5 separate regions of the Homo sapiens genome follow, and regions 1, 2, 4 and 5 are each linked to region 3. Evidence: promoter capture Hi-C in human tissues and cell types (Jung and others, 2019). All regions are on one chromosome and are shown on one strand. Each heading gives the region's core, a stretch centred on a gene start or on the middle of the fragment in contact. The rest is flanking DNA. Distances are from core to core; before and after follow the strand shown. Region 1 overlaps PTPRT (protein tyrosine phosphatase receptor type T). Region 2 overlaps PTPRT (protein tyrosine phosphatase receptor type T). Region 3 holds the start of PTPRT (protein tyrosine phosphatase receptor type T). Region 4 overlaps PTPRT (protein tyrosine phosphatase receptor type T). Region 5 overlaps PTPRT (protein tyrosine phosphatase receptor type T).

Evidence for each region. The method cuts DNA at HindIII sites, captures the fragments that hold promoters and counts their contacts. A contact is called where the count stands out against the background at its distance.
Region 1: a contact is called between a fragment that was not itself captured here and the fragment with the promoter of PTPRT in region 3, in 1 of the 25 tissues and cell types used here (H1 embryonic stem cells).
Region 2: a fragment that was not itself captured here is called in contact with the fragment with the promoter of PTPRT in region 3 in 2 of the 25 tissues and cell types used here (dorsolateral prefrontal cortex and heart left ventricle).
Region 4: a contact is called between a fragment that was not itself captured here and the fragment with the promoter of PTPRT in region 3, in 1 of the 25 tissues and cell types used here (dorsolateral prefrontal cortex).
Region 5: a contact is called between a fragment that was not itself captured here and the fragment with the promoter of PTPRT in region 3, in 1 of the 25 tissues and cell types used here (dorsolateral prefrontal cortex).

The regions. Positions count from the first base shown.
Region 1 is chr20:42,661,422-42,664,121 of GRCh38, forward strand. All of the region lies in intron 7 of PTPRT (protein tyrosine phosphatase receptor type T), which reads right to left. Among named protein-coding and RNA genes, the nearest start is that of PTPRT-AS1, 310 kb to the right of the region's middle. The HindIII fragment of the contact is 4,745 bases long and covers 1-2,700 here.
Region 2 is chr20:42,377,611-42,380,347 of GRCh38, forward strand. All of the region lies in intron 9 of PTPRT (protein tyrosine phosphatase receptor type T), which reads right to left. Among named protein-coding and RNA genes, the nearest start is that of PTPRT-AS1, 590 kb to the right of the region's middle. The HindIII fragment of the contact is 3,599 bases long and covers 1-2,737 here.
Region 3 is chr20:43,188,580-43,191,279 of GRCh38, forward strand. PTPRT (protein tyrosine phosphatase receptor type T) reads right to left here and starts at 1,327. Exons shown (of 31, transcript NM_007050.6): 1 at 1,067-1,327. The coding sequence starts at 1,154. PTPRT-DT (PTPRT divergent transcript) reads left to right here and starts at 1,486. Exons shown (of 3, transcript NR_186414.1): 1 at 1,486-1,671. The HindIII fragment of the contact is 13,787 bases long and covers 1-2,700 here.
Region 4 is chr20:42,314,489-42,317,378 of GRCh38, forward strand. It overlaps PTPRT (protein tyrosine phosphatase receptor type T), which reads right to left. Exons shown (of 31, transcript NM_007050.6): 12 at 1,235-1,508. Among named protein-coding and RNA genes, the nearest start is that of PTPRT-AS1, 650 kb to the right of the region's middle. The HindIII fragment of the contact is 7,545 bases long and covers 1-2,890 here.
Region 5 is chr20:42,333,750-42,336,449 of GRCh38, forward strand. The region is part of intron 11 of PTPRT (protein tyrosine phosphatase receptor type T); the gene reads right to left. Among named protein-coding and RNA genes, the nearest start is that of PTPRT-AS1, 630 kb to the right of the region's middle. The HindIII fragment of the contact is 3,717 bases long and covers 1-2,700 here.

The DNA.
Region 1 (2,700 bases), core at 5-2,504, 530 kb before region 3:
CATTTCCTATTTTCAAAAGGTTACTTTCAAATTTCAAAAATGTGCTACCTCTTTTTTTCAAGTATAAAGATGAAGAAGATAAAGAAGTAAAATGGCAGCCACCACCAGAGTAGTTATAGTGGCTGCATCCATTTTCCGCCCTAAGCCCAGGTGGGAAAAGGGTTGGCTGGAAAAGTTACAAGCTTCTAATGATTAAGAAGCCCCATCAAGGAAAATCTACATGGCCGTGGTGGATGGACAACCACTCTCTGGTGGATTCCCATTGACCTTCGAGACCCCCTAACTCCCACTCTCACCTCCTGCTACACCTCATCTCAAGAATCTCAGGATGACTTGTGGCTCAAGCCAATAGTGGGTGGGATTTAGAAACAACTGACACTCTGGTTTTCCTCTTTTCTGTCAGGCAGAGTCTTTTTCTCTGCACCAAGCCAGGTTTGGGCTCACTGCTCAGGATAACTCTCCCATTCTTCTCACTGCAGGGAGACCTCTGCGTTCCAGAATGGCCAGCAATGGACAGGGTGCCCTTGGCTTCCTCTGGCTCAGGCATCATTTTGGCTGAGGCTGCATACCAAGCTCTTGATAGAGTGAGCTTTGTGAACACAGCAAAGGGCTAGCCCCTCAGACTCATGGCAATGAGGATTTTTGGGGTTTAATGGTGAGGAAGGCCTAGGGCCTAGGTAATGAGAGAGAAACTGAAAAAAGATAGCATACTGTCCTCTTAATATGTTGTACCAGTTAACTCACCTGCAGAAATGCCTGTTAAGAGCCTACTTCGTTCCTTGCCAAAACTGGTTACTACCAGTTTGAAACATATAAGTAGGTAATATATTGATAATGAGAGAGAAAGTGAGCCCCTAGGTGTTAAAGTACCAAAGGCTCCAATTTACTAAGCACCTACTAAGTTCTAAGCATTGTACTTAGAGTTCTATGGTCAGCTGGGTCCAGAGCAGGACTCTAATCGGACTCAGTAGGCCCCAACCTCAGCTACTTCCTAAACTGTGTGACTTGGAGCAAAACACTAAATCTCTCTGGCCTTGGTAGTAATGGTCATGATAAAACCTACCTCATGGGGTTATAGGTTTGCAGGCAAAGTCAGTGGGGTAAGCCTTGCAGAGCATTATTAGCCATCATTAATATTAATGACCTGTATTTCTATCCAGTGAGGTAAGCAGCATTATACTAATTAACAGAGGGGGAAACTGATTCACAGAGGTCAAGCAATTGCCCAAGGCTGTCCAGCATCCTAAGGAGTGAATCTAGCATTAAAACTCTGATGGGACTGAAAGCAAACCCCCTATTTAACTGTCCCTTACTCTATTTGAACACTGAGCTTGAAGCTTGGTTTGCATCTCAGGGCTTAGCAAATTTGGGACTGTTTCTGTACTGTCCAAAAATGTCAATGATTCACTAACTAATAAAAATACCCTCATATAGAGTGTTTTACAATTTATAACAATCATTCACATTCACATTTGACTCCAATGGGTACAACAATTTCTAAATTATATAAATTTTTGTGACCCACAGTCTCAATACCTGAATATATGTGTGTGTGTGTGTGTGTGTATGTGTGTGTGTATTTATATATATACATGAATATATATACATAATATACAGACATATATATGGCATGTCTGTCTCTGTACCTATACCCAAGGGCAGATAGGTTAAAATACATATTTTAAGAAGGGTTGTTTCCATTCAAAGAAACACTTTGATCTCAGAATGAGCCGCCCTCCCCCAACCCCACTTAATGTTCAGTTCAGTGCAAAAGATGTACAAAGAGGGGCCTGGAAATAGAGTCTAGAGAAAGTTGAACTGCTCTAGGAACTTGAATGAGAAGACTTTGCTGCACCTGTGGGCAATTTGGGAGGGAGGAAACAGAAAGAGGTGAAAATTTCTTGCCTGTTGAAAGGACTTTTAAAGTCTGAGAAAGGATGAGTTCTATGCTGGGCAGGACGGCAATGCGACCCCTTGCCTGAGTCCCACCAAACACCAAGAGAAGTTTGCTGCTGCAGGAAACAGCCTTTGTTATGTGGCTTCGGCAGGGTGGTGTGGAAGGGCCCAGGTCCACATTTGGTTCAGTTAGGGGAGCCAGAAGAATTTGACTGATGTTCTAGAATCCAGGGCAGGCAGTGAACAGGGGCTCATGTGCTCTTTTTGAAATCTCCATGTGCAGAATTTGAAATGGGGAGTTCTGGTCAATACTTCATAGATTTCACTGGTAAACTGGCCCCAGCTGATATGCGGTCTGTGTATTTATATTTCACAAAACTGACACAGTAATTACTTACACTCGTGGTTTTGTAGGCTCTTTTTTTTAAAACTTCCTACAGCATGAACATTAACCCATGCCATTAGATACATATACCACAAAAACAGTTTGTAACAATACTAGCATAGAATTCCACTGTGTGTGTGCACCAAAATTTACTTAACTACTCTCCAATCGTTGGTGCATTTAAGTGATTTCCAAGTCTTTGTCCTTATAAATAATGCAGTGATGATCTCTGTCTGAAACTCTCTTTTGAGCAGCTCTGATTATTTTGCTAGAAAAAAAATTAGCAAATTGTCCTCTTAACATGCTGTACCAGTTAACTTACCTGCAGAAATGCCTGTAAGAACCTGCTTTGTTATTCCTTACCAATACTGCTTATTAACAATTTAAAAAATATATAGGTAGGTAATATGATAGATAAA
Region 2 (2,737 bases), core at 113-2,612, 810 kb before region 3:
AGCTCTTTGTCTCAATTTCAAAGTACCACTGACCTCAACCTAAAACCTCAACCTAACAAACGACCTCAACCTAAAATCCTGTGCTTCCGGTTGTGAGCCTTGTGACTGTGGAGGAGACATTTCCTAGCGCTGAGCCTCAGTTCGCCACCTCTGTAAATTGCCTGTGGAAGACATGGCTTTGGAGGACAGAAAAGAAAAGTGAAGGAAGAGAAAGATGAAGCCAGAGTGAAGTGGTAGCATTAGTGCTGTGATTCACAAAAATAACACTATAGGAAGAACCTGGATGATAGTATTCTGAATACAGCAGGAGCACCAATAGAGTAGCAGTAGTAAAAATAGCATCATTATAACTAATAGTGCAGAAATAGTACTAGGGGTCCTACCCAGAGGAGGACTGATTATTTCAGAGGCAGAGGTTGGGGCAGAATAGAAGGCTTAACAGATGTGGTACATCTCACTGGTTGAGAATTCAGATTCTGGAGCCAAACCGACATTTGATGAAATGAAGTGTGTATTGAAAACAGCACAGCAACCCCCACAGAGTAGGGGAAAGAATGTAAGATCCCCAAGGAGAGGGACCGTGATGGTCTTGCTCAGCATTGCATTCCTGGTGCCTAGGACAGCGGGAGGCACCAGATAAACATCTCTTAAATATATTAGGAGTCTTTGATTCTTTTTCTGTTCTCAGATACCTACTGACTGTATGATTCTGAGATCACACCTCTCTTCTTGGCTTCAATTCTTTCATCTCGAAAAGTCAGGATTTGGGCTGTGTGGCACCAAAGATGCTTTCCAGTTCCTGTGTTTTCTCTCCTGATGCCCTATTTTACTCTTCCTTTGCAACCTGATAGTATCTTTTTTGGTTAATTGTTCACTCATTTTCTGTCTCCCCACTAGACCGAGTTCTCCAATGTGGGAATCTAAGTTGCCATCTTGCACAACCCTGTAATCCCAAAACTTGGCACAAAACCTGAGGCATATCTCAGTGAGTATCTGTCGAATGAACAAAGGAATGAACAAGCTCTATTTTCTTAAGATCACTGGAGGCAGCATTGTGCCACGGTTAAGATACGGGCTCTAGGTTCAGACTGCCTATATTTGAATATTGATTCCTCCAGTTACCAGTTTTATGACCTGCAAATTATTTAACTTCCTGAGGCTCAGTTTCCTCATCTGTAGAGCGCAGATACTAATGGTATCCCCTTCACAGGATTTTGAAATGATTAAATAATTCATGCAAAGCTGTTAAAATAGTTCTGACATGTAGTAAGCATTCAATACTTATCAGCCTCATTTAGAGAAAAAAGAAATTCCTTGTGAATTCCATGTGTAATTTGACAGGTGTGACACTGACTCAACTTGCTCCAGCAAGTCTCCAAGGCAACCATTCCCCACTTGGTGCTTCTACCGTGCCCCCACAGCTCCATTTTTGCACTTGGAATGCTGCATTTCGTTTTGAACATGTAAGCCTTTGCTTCTGCCTTCAGGTGCTCAACTCTGGCGTGCCCAGCCTCCCCAGTCTTATGCCTACCACTCCCTCCCTCAGTCTTGCTCCACAAAGTGCCTCTGTGCCTTGGCATATGCTGTCACCTCTGTCTGTGATGAACTTCCAATTTTCTACAACTGGCCAACACCTGGTCATTACTCAAGTCCCGGGTCAAGCCCCTTTATTGCAGGAAGATTTCCCTGAATCTCTAGGCTGGTGAAATGCATGACAAAGTTCTATTCATTTCCCTGCAGCAATAGAGAAATCCCAACTGTTTAATCATAACAGAAGAGGAAAACAAAGAAAAATGAGTGGGAGTGCCTTGGTATAACTATGACACCCTAATCATCATCTCATGGGGAGACCCTAGAACAACCAGACTCAAATTTGAGGCATCCAGTGCATGCTTCCCAGAGCCTCTCACTCTTACTTTTCCTAGAGGCACCTGAGCCTGTGGAGGGCAGCAGGAGCTCGGTCTCCAGCTCCACCCCTTCTCCACATTCCTACAAAGGAGTTATATGCCAGGTACCTCCTTTCTCGGCCTTGGCCCTGGCCGGGTGATTGGGAAAATGAAACAGACTGGCCGAGGCTTGATGCCCCTAAATTGTAATTTCAAGGTAATTTGAACTTCCTTCTTCTTGGGCATGAATGGAAAAGCTAAAGTCTCCTTGAATCAGTGTGCAGAACTCAACAAAGAATTAAAGTGCCCCCATGCTTTCCTCCAAAGCTTGTGTGAGATCAGCAGGATAATCAATTTTACAATTCTGTGAAGCTGATTGGAAAGTGATTACAAAGGCAGTCAGAGCATTTTCTCATGGGCTTTCAAAAGGCCTGTTGCAGAGGGACGTGAAGGATATGAAGTCTGGCCATCCATAGCAAGCCCACAAAAATCAAGGACTCCTTCACTCCCAAAGCTTTAATCTCTGGCTCCCATGAGTTCGATAGTCAATCCTGCCCAAGGCCTATAGAGTAAACGTGTGAGGCTGGTAGTCCACTAAGAACCTAAGCCCTATTTCAGTAGATAGCTTTGGGGTCAGAATGCTACTGCAGGCTGATTTTTAAAAACCTTGAACTTCAGTGTTGCCCTCTGCTGCATCCTGCCTCAGTTTCCTTATCCCACTCTCTCTAGCTCCCTGTGGAGACTGGATCCCTGATCTAAATCACGCTGCCACCTTCTCCATGTGCTGGAGCACTGTCTCCTAAAATGGCCAGCTTTCTGGCACCGAGATGCATTAGGCACTGACTGGTAGG
Region 3 (2,700 bases), core at 77-2,576:
CAGCCTGTTCCTGCGTCCCACGGGCTGATCTCAGCCTGTCCCCGCAATCCCAGCCACCTCAGGCCGGCGTGGTTACACCAAAAGCAATCGGTGCTAAGAAACTTTAAGGTGATTTTGAACTTGGAAGTACACCTGCAGCACTCCCTTCTCTTCCCTCCGCCGCTACTCTTGGGGGGGGGGGGGCTCGGGGGTGGAAGCTGCCTGCGGTGGGGCTTGGTGATGTGTAAGACCCTGGACTGTGGTGCCCTCCAGCACCCGCCAACGTGCCTTTAGGAGCACGGCAGGCACCACCCCCCCGCCCCCGCTCCCCCTACTCTGGGGAACTACCTCTGCTCACCGCCTTCCCGTGGCCAAACCCAAATATGAGTTCCCCGAACTTTTCAGGAGCGGACGCGCTCACGGGTCAAATCCACTCCCCTCCAAGGGCCTTAACACGGGCGCCCAGCTACCTCGGAGAAAAGCCAGCGGGTAGGGCGGAGGTATTGCTCTCGGTCATCAACGCAAACATCCCCTCGGGTGCCTACAGCGGCCTGCTTAGGGGAGCAGCGTGTTCAGAGCAAATGGAGAGCTTCCTGTATCTCCGAGGAAAAAAGAAAAGCCGCCGCCCCGGCAGCCTCGGCCTGCTGGGGACCTGTCCTCCCCACTAAAAGCGCGCGCTGCCCGAGGAGCTGCCCGGGAGAGAACGCTCCACCCCGGGCGTCGGTGCCGCTCCTCGTCTCGCCGCCCCAAACACTCAAGTGGCAGATTCCGACAAGTGGGAGGCAGCAAGTGGAAATATTCGCAACAACCGCGGAAAGTTACTCCAGCCCGGGGGGCCGGCAGGAAACTGAAGCGGGGAACTTCGCCAAACGCGGGCTGCCGAGGGACGCGAGGGGCCGGGCTCGCTGGCCGGGGCGCGCGGGGACACTGCTTCCCGCGCCTGCAAGCTGAGACCCGGGTTCCGGCCATGGGGACCCGCGCCCCCGCGAGCCCACACAACTTTCTCCTCCGAGGGCCCCGCGGCTGGGGGCCCGCGCGCATCCAGGAGGGAGCGGGGAGCCCAGGGGAGCCGGGCGGGCGCACTCACCTGCGGCGCTCTGAGCCCGGGCGCCGGGCAGTGGCGGCAGCTGCAGCCTCAGGAGCAGGCTGAGGGCGAGCGCGGCGAGGCTCGCCATCCGGGCGGCGGCGGGCAGCTCAGCCCCTTCCCGCGGGGGCCGGGGCCGGGACTGGGGCGGGCGCGGGGTGGCCCCGCATCGCCGGCGCGGCCGCTGGCTGTGCGCGCGGCTGGCTCCGCTCGGGCTCCCGGAGCCGGCGCTCCTGCGTTCCAAGCCGAGGCGCGGCGCGAACTGAGGCGGGAGGCTGGGCGGGGGCGGGACGCGGGGGGCGGGGGGCGGTGTCCCCCGAGTCCTAACGCCGCCGCCGTTGCCGCCGCCGCCGCCGCCGCCGCCCGCCCGGGCGCTCCGCCTCGGCCGTGCACACACCCTCACGCGCACGCCCGCGCCTGGCACACGCCCGCGGCTGGCACACGCGGGCTCCCCCGCGCACCCTCTCCGGGGCCGACCAGCTCGGGCCGCTGGCACAGTCACGCGCGTCCACACATCACCCCCGCACCCACACGCCGGGCAGGGTCCTCGCCTCTTCGCCCCGCGCCGCGCCGCGCAGCCAAGCATCGTCTGCCCTGTGGGGGCGCAGGTACGGGGGCGGTGCGGGGAGGAGGAAGCTGCAGCAGCCGTTTGAACTCGGGGTGGGGAACAGGTGAATGGGGGTTCGGTGGCGAGAAGAGGGAGGGAGGGAGCAGCCCTCGCAACTCAAGATAAGGGGCCAGGTGAATTGCGAAAGCGGGTGGGGGCGTCTGCCCAAAGCTGGGGCAGGCGGCTGCTGGCCAGGGTCTCGGGCACACCCTGAGATGAGAATTTCATCTAAGAGCGCGCGCGCGCACACACACACAACCCACTCACACTCTTCTGGGCGCATCGCTGACCGCGCCACAATCGTCGTCCCCCTCAATTAGCCGCCCACCCCACCTTCTTCTTCACCCACATCTCTCTCTTGTCCCCACCACCACGCGGAAGGGGGCGCAGAAGGGGCATGAGGCATCCCCCCACCCCCTACAATTTTTCCCTGGCAGCCTTCCCTTTCCTTTTCTAGGGAGACAGAACCTTGTAGCTTTTTCCCTTTTCTTCTCGGTCTTAACAAAGACCTGGTTGGGGCTGAAAGCCTAAAACCATAGATCAGGGTTGGAGCTGTCCCTGGCAGCCCACGGCCCACAGCCTGGCTCTCTGCTGTCCTGGGAGGCAGCTGGTACCTGAGTCTTGGCTGGGGGTCTGAGATGTAAAAGCCAGGGGCAGGGATACCCAGAAATGCTTAAGGGATTCACACTTTGTGAACACTTTGCTACCTGGCCAAAGCCCTCCTTCTTCTGTGTCAGCACAGCCCCCCACCCCCATCCTTGTTGGGGTACCAGGGACTGGACTGGGGAGACTGTAAGTGAATTGTGAAAATCAAGCATGGCAGGGTTTCCAAAAGTGGGGAGCCCCAGGCTCTGGACCCAAGTTGGCATGGCAGAGAACACAGGGCGTCACTCTGTCAGTCCCCAGTTCCCAGTCCCCACTAGGTAAAGTGGCCCAGTTCCCTGGCATGGAAGCCCAATTTACAATCCCAGGCAAATTCTTCCACCCCTCTCCGGACCCCGACTCCCACCACCACCACCATGACCGTGAC
Region 4 (2,890 bases), core at 336-2,835, 870 kb before region 3:
ACTGCACTCCAGCCTGGGCAACAGAGTGAGACTGTGTCAAAAAAAAAAAAAAAAGAAAGAAAAGAAAAGAAAAGAAAAGAAATATGAAAATATGACCACCTTGATGGAAAATACAAACTTGTGTAATAAAACAGGCTAAAGATATTTAGCTTGCAGAAAAGACAATCTTATGGGCACATTTATATAGAGAAGAAAAGGGTGTTAGAAAAGATCTTATGTAACTGAAAGACTATAAACCAAGAAGGTGGTTGCATTGGTTTTGTAGGATGCTAAGAGTGTGAATCAAGAACAATGGATAGAAACTTCAATAGGAAATATTTCAGTAAGTACATTAAAAAGCCTCCTTAGAGACACAGCCCACTCCCTACTCCAGAAAACAGTAAAGCTACCTCAGAGATAAATGAGTTCTCTGTCATTGGAGGTATTCAAGAATAAGCACTAATGCCAGTTAATTGGTGTTGTAGTATGGATAGAACCATTGTTTTGTGTGTGTTTGAGATTGTTGAATGACCTTTGATATGCTTTCCAGCCCTGTGATTTTCTAATATTATGACTGGTGCCAATCCTTGACCAAAGAAATATTTGACACAAAAATGGTTACCTTGCGTGAACCCGGGAAGCGGAGCTTGCAGTGAGCCGAGATTGCGCCACTGCAGTCCGCAGTCCGGCCTGGGCGACAGAGCGAGGCTCCGTCTCAAAAAAAAAAAAAAAAAAAAAAAAAAAAATGGTTACCTTGTTTTTGTTTTTGGAGAAACACTATTTTCTAATGTGACCAATGGCAATGAAAAAGGGCGTATTAATCACTAATCAACTAAACCATGATTAGTGCATTCCTAGATAGCAAATTGATAGATATTATTATTATATATGAAGAACTTAAGGATCAGAGAGGTCATGTAATTTCCTCAAGTAAAGCACCATCTCTTTACTTTAATACAGGAGTGTGCAAAGGTTTTATGTAAAAAGCCATATAATAAATATCTTAGGCTTTGTGGAGCATATAGTCTCTGTTACAACTGTTCAACTTTACTGTTAAGCATCAAAACAGCCATAGACAGTATGTAAATGAACAGGCATAGCTGTACTATTATTTTTTTAATTTAAAGGCATGAGGTAGGATTTGCCCCACGGGCCTTAGTTTTTCATCCTCTGCTCTAGAGCCCTGCTGACTTATCATTTGAGAATGAAAAAATGCAAACAAGGCAAGGAATGGCCTCCATGTGGCCATACTTACTCCATTGGCTTTGCTGAGTGCCTGGAAGTAGATGCTGTAGCTTTTCAGGGGAGAGAGAGGAGGGTTCCAGTAGCCATTGTATGTCTTATTGTCACCCACTGTAAATGGCTGGGTGACAGGCAGGTTGGCAGGCTTCAACTCAGCAGCAAAGTAGTGTAGAGAATCGAGGCTGGAGGCATTCCGATAGCTCACGGGCACCGAAAAGCACTCAATAATGTCAGCTGCCCTCCGTGACTTCTGAAGTCGCTCCTCCTTGACAACCAGCTGATAAACACTGGACAGGAAAGAGGAGACACAGATGGTTGAGCAACTTTCTGGAAGAATGAGCTTGTTAGCTCTAATGGTGTCAACCCAACTTCTCCTATGTGGAAGCATTGGTTCGGTCTACAACAAAACTCCAGTCCTGAGCATCAGATTTTCAAACCTACCACGTTGTAGAACTTTACCTCCACTTAGCTGTCTCAGAGCCAGCTCACACTAGACACATCTAAAACTCAACTTAGCCCCAACCCCTACAAACCTGTCTGCTCCTCCTTCTACATTTCCTTTCTTAGTAAATGGTAGCAGCATCTGACAAGTGGCCAGAATCTGAATCTAGGGCTCATCCTCAGTTCTTAACTCCTTCGTTCTCACTCCTCATCCTAATCAACAGCCTTACAGAAGTCTGTTGATTTGGCTTCTGCAGGTTTGCATCTGCCCCACCTCTCTTTTCTCCTTCCACTGATAATGCCTTGGTTGGACACTTTCCCACTTACCCAGATTCAACTAGTCTCTTTGCCTCTAAGGCACTTGATTTATTAATCACTCATCCTAATCATATGGCTTCCTAATCATATAGCTCTTCAAACACTTTCATAGGCCTTCCATTGTCCAAATTATACAATCTGAACTCCTAATCTTGGCATTTGAAGTCCTCTGTGCCTGCCTTCTGTCTTCCATTTAGAAGGTCTTCTCATGGTGTTCCCATCTTCCAGCTACTCCAGACCCCATGCTATTGCACAGACATCTTTTGGATCTCACCTCATGCATTACTGACTTATGCTTCCTCTACCTGCAATGCCCTGCATCCTGGCCACCTCTGGTTTCCTCCAAAGGCTGAGCATGTCTTTCACTTCCTCTATGAAGCCTGTCCAGATATGTCCAGTCTGGATGAATTACCTCCCTCTTTAGTTCCCCTAGAGCTCATCTAATCTCCATCTGCTTTGTTTTCCAATATCATGAGATGGGACTACTCTTTCACTGGCTAGATTGTGACCTTTTACAAAGTAGGCATTGTTGCTTACTTATCTCTGCCTCATTCTCCACCCCCACCCCATACTGCCCAGCAGGATGCCTGTCACCCAACAAGTGATCAATGAATGCTTGTTCAAATGAATTAAATTGGATTGAATTAAAATTGAAAGCAAACATGAAACCAAATCTGCCTGGATGCAGAAACCCTAATCGGATAAACAGCGATTGCCTTGAGTTCCTGTCTAGTGATCTCATATTGTTCCCTTCAAGTTAGAAGGATGTAAGAAGATGCTAGTGTGTGAATAGAGATGACTGATCCTTTATTGAATATCAACTGATACCCAATGTTAGACTCTCTTTGTAAAAGTTCTTTTAAGGTTTGTAAGTTGGAGAACATTTTTCAATCTCTTTGAATGCCCCACA
Region 5 (2,700 bases), core at 111-2,610, 850 kb before region 3:
CTCAGAGCAATCTCTGCCTCCTGCGTTCAAGCTAGATTCTTCTGCCTCAGCCTGCTGAGTAGCTGGAACTACAGGCATGCACCACCACACCTGGCTAATGTTTGTATTTTTAGTACAGATGGGTTTTCACCATGTTGGCCAGGCTGGTCTTGATCTCCTGACCTCAAGTGACCCGCCCACCTTGGCTTCACAAAGTGCTGGGATTACAGGCATAAGCCACCATGCCCGGCTTGAATTTGGCTTTAATTTCTAATACAGTAAACATTGATAGACAAAACCCACATAAACAAAAGTTCTTTGATGCCTTCATTAATTTTTAAGAGTGTAAAGGGGTCTTCAAATTTAAAAGATCAAGAACCTGTGAATCATACATTTTTTTAAAAAAAAGTCTATTAAGACCCCCATGGTTCAGAGTTTCTCAATCTTGGCACTACTGACATTTTGGGCTGGATAAGTCTTCGTTGTAGGGGGCTGGCTGTGCTGTGCATTGTGGGATGTTCAGCAGGATCCCTGACCCCCACTCACTAACTAGATGCCAGTATCACCTCCGACTTGTAATAAACAAAAATATGTCCTGACATTGCCAGATATCTCTTAAGGGACAAATTAACGCTGGTTGAGAACCACTGCCATAGGTAATTAGGAAAAGGATGTAAAAAGAAAATTCACAAAAAAGAAATGTTAATAGCATAAAAATACCTAGAAAAATATTCTGCCTTGCCAGTAAGCCAAGACATGCAAATCAAAATGACAATATGTTCCCATTTAAATGCATTAAATTAGTAAAAGTAAGCATAAATTATAACAAGCCATTTCAGTGAAGCTGTGGTTGAACTGGTAGGATTCTACAATTCCAGTAGCATTTTTAATTGATTCATCAAATTGGGGAAAATAATCTGGCAATGGTTTTCAAGACATAAATGTTTTTATGACCTGGAAGTAAAAAGAGCATAGGCTCAGGAATCAGCATTAAACTTGAATTTTAGCTCTGAATCTCACTGGTTATGTGATCTTCCTTAATTTATTTAAATGATAGCATTTATAAGAACTGAATACGATAATAATGCCTCCATCATTTGTTATTTGAGAACTGCAATAGACAATAATGTAAGTGAACTTCTAGTTAAAAGCGGAAGAATTAATGTACTCCATTTACCTCTTCTATCTCCTCACTGTTATTGCAGTGAAATGTGAAAAAGCATAGAAATCCACAAGGAAAAAGAGGACAGGAGAGGGGACATCAGTGGATGAGCAGTTTTAAGAAAATTCTGGAAACCTAAAAATGGTCAGAGGAGAGGTACCACATGTGATGAGATAAAGAAAGTCAAATTGCAAAGACATGTGAGTAAGAATGGATTTTATTTGCCCCACAGATTTCAAGAGAGATTCTGATGTTGGAGTAGTCAAGTGTGGACAGTGTGGAAGTAAAATGTGGGGCTGAAAAGGGGTGTTTATCAAAAGTCTGTACACAAAACCATCAAACCTTTGAACATGGAGAGCTATGTGTCTGCCCTCTACCCCTTAGGCAGGAGATAGGAAGAGGATTTCATTTCAGAATTTGAATGCCTCCGCCTCCAAAAGCACAGCACCTCCAGTCAACTTTCTCAACACCTTACTTTTAAATATTGGCTATGGAGGTTCACTGGTTAGGTAAGCAATGCTTCCAACATGAAAGAGAGCAGTGAATTAAAAAAAATGACTCTAGAAGAAACAGAGATAATACAGGAGTCAGAAAAGCTTCCCCCTTCTCCAAAATCAAAATCATATCCTGAGATGTTTGAGAAATGATTACTTCTATAAATAAGAAGTGAATGTTATAAGAAAAAAAATTCAAAGAACAGTAAGTAGCTCAAAATGAAAAATTATGACTGCCAAAATTATAAACAAATTTGAGAATTTTTTTGAGGGAGTTGTTCTGTTTTGTTTTAGGAAATAGAAGAAATTGGCAGAAAAGAAAAGGGGAAAAAGAGTATTTAAAGGCAAACCTAAAATGATGGAGTTCTGTGGGAGGAAAAATGTATGAATAGTTTAATAAATAAACTGCCTGAAGAAATGAGAATAATTGTACATTCTATAACGAATTAAACAAAAAAGCCCACAAGAAGAGTAATTAGAAGTAGTATAACATAGTAGTACACTCCAGACTGTGGGGCTAGACCATTATGTTCAAATTTCATATCGGCTGCTACTAGCTGCATGATCTTGAGCAAGTTAGTTAACCTTTCAGTACTTCAGTTTCCCCATCTGTAAAATAGGGATAACACTAGTTTCTACCTGGTAGGGTTTTGACGATAATCAACTGAGTTAATATACATAAAGAACTTAAAATCTTAGCAAGCTTTAAATTAATTATGTAATAATATAATACTTACATATTATATTATACTGTAAAAGAAGTAATATACCATTTGGCTCTGAAGTGACCTGTTTTTATGGAATTGTAAAGTTGGCCATTGTGTAGTTATTTAACAAAAAACTGTGGCTTAACTACATTGGAAAGAAGGAAGGGAGGTATTGGATGATTTAAGACAGACAAGTTACCATCTATCATAGCAGGAAATAAATAGATAATGTCTGCAATCGATAACTTTAAAATAGCACATTATGTAGTGACATTGCCAATTCCCAGAAGAAAGAGCAAAGAATTAAAATGCATTTGCCTCTGAGGCACAGGACTGGGGGAGGGGGGGTTGTAAATGG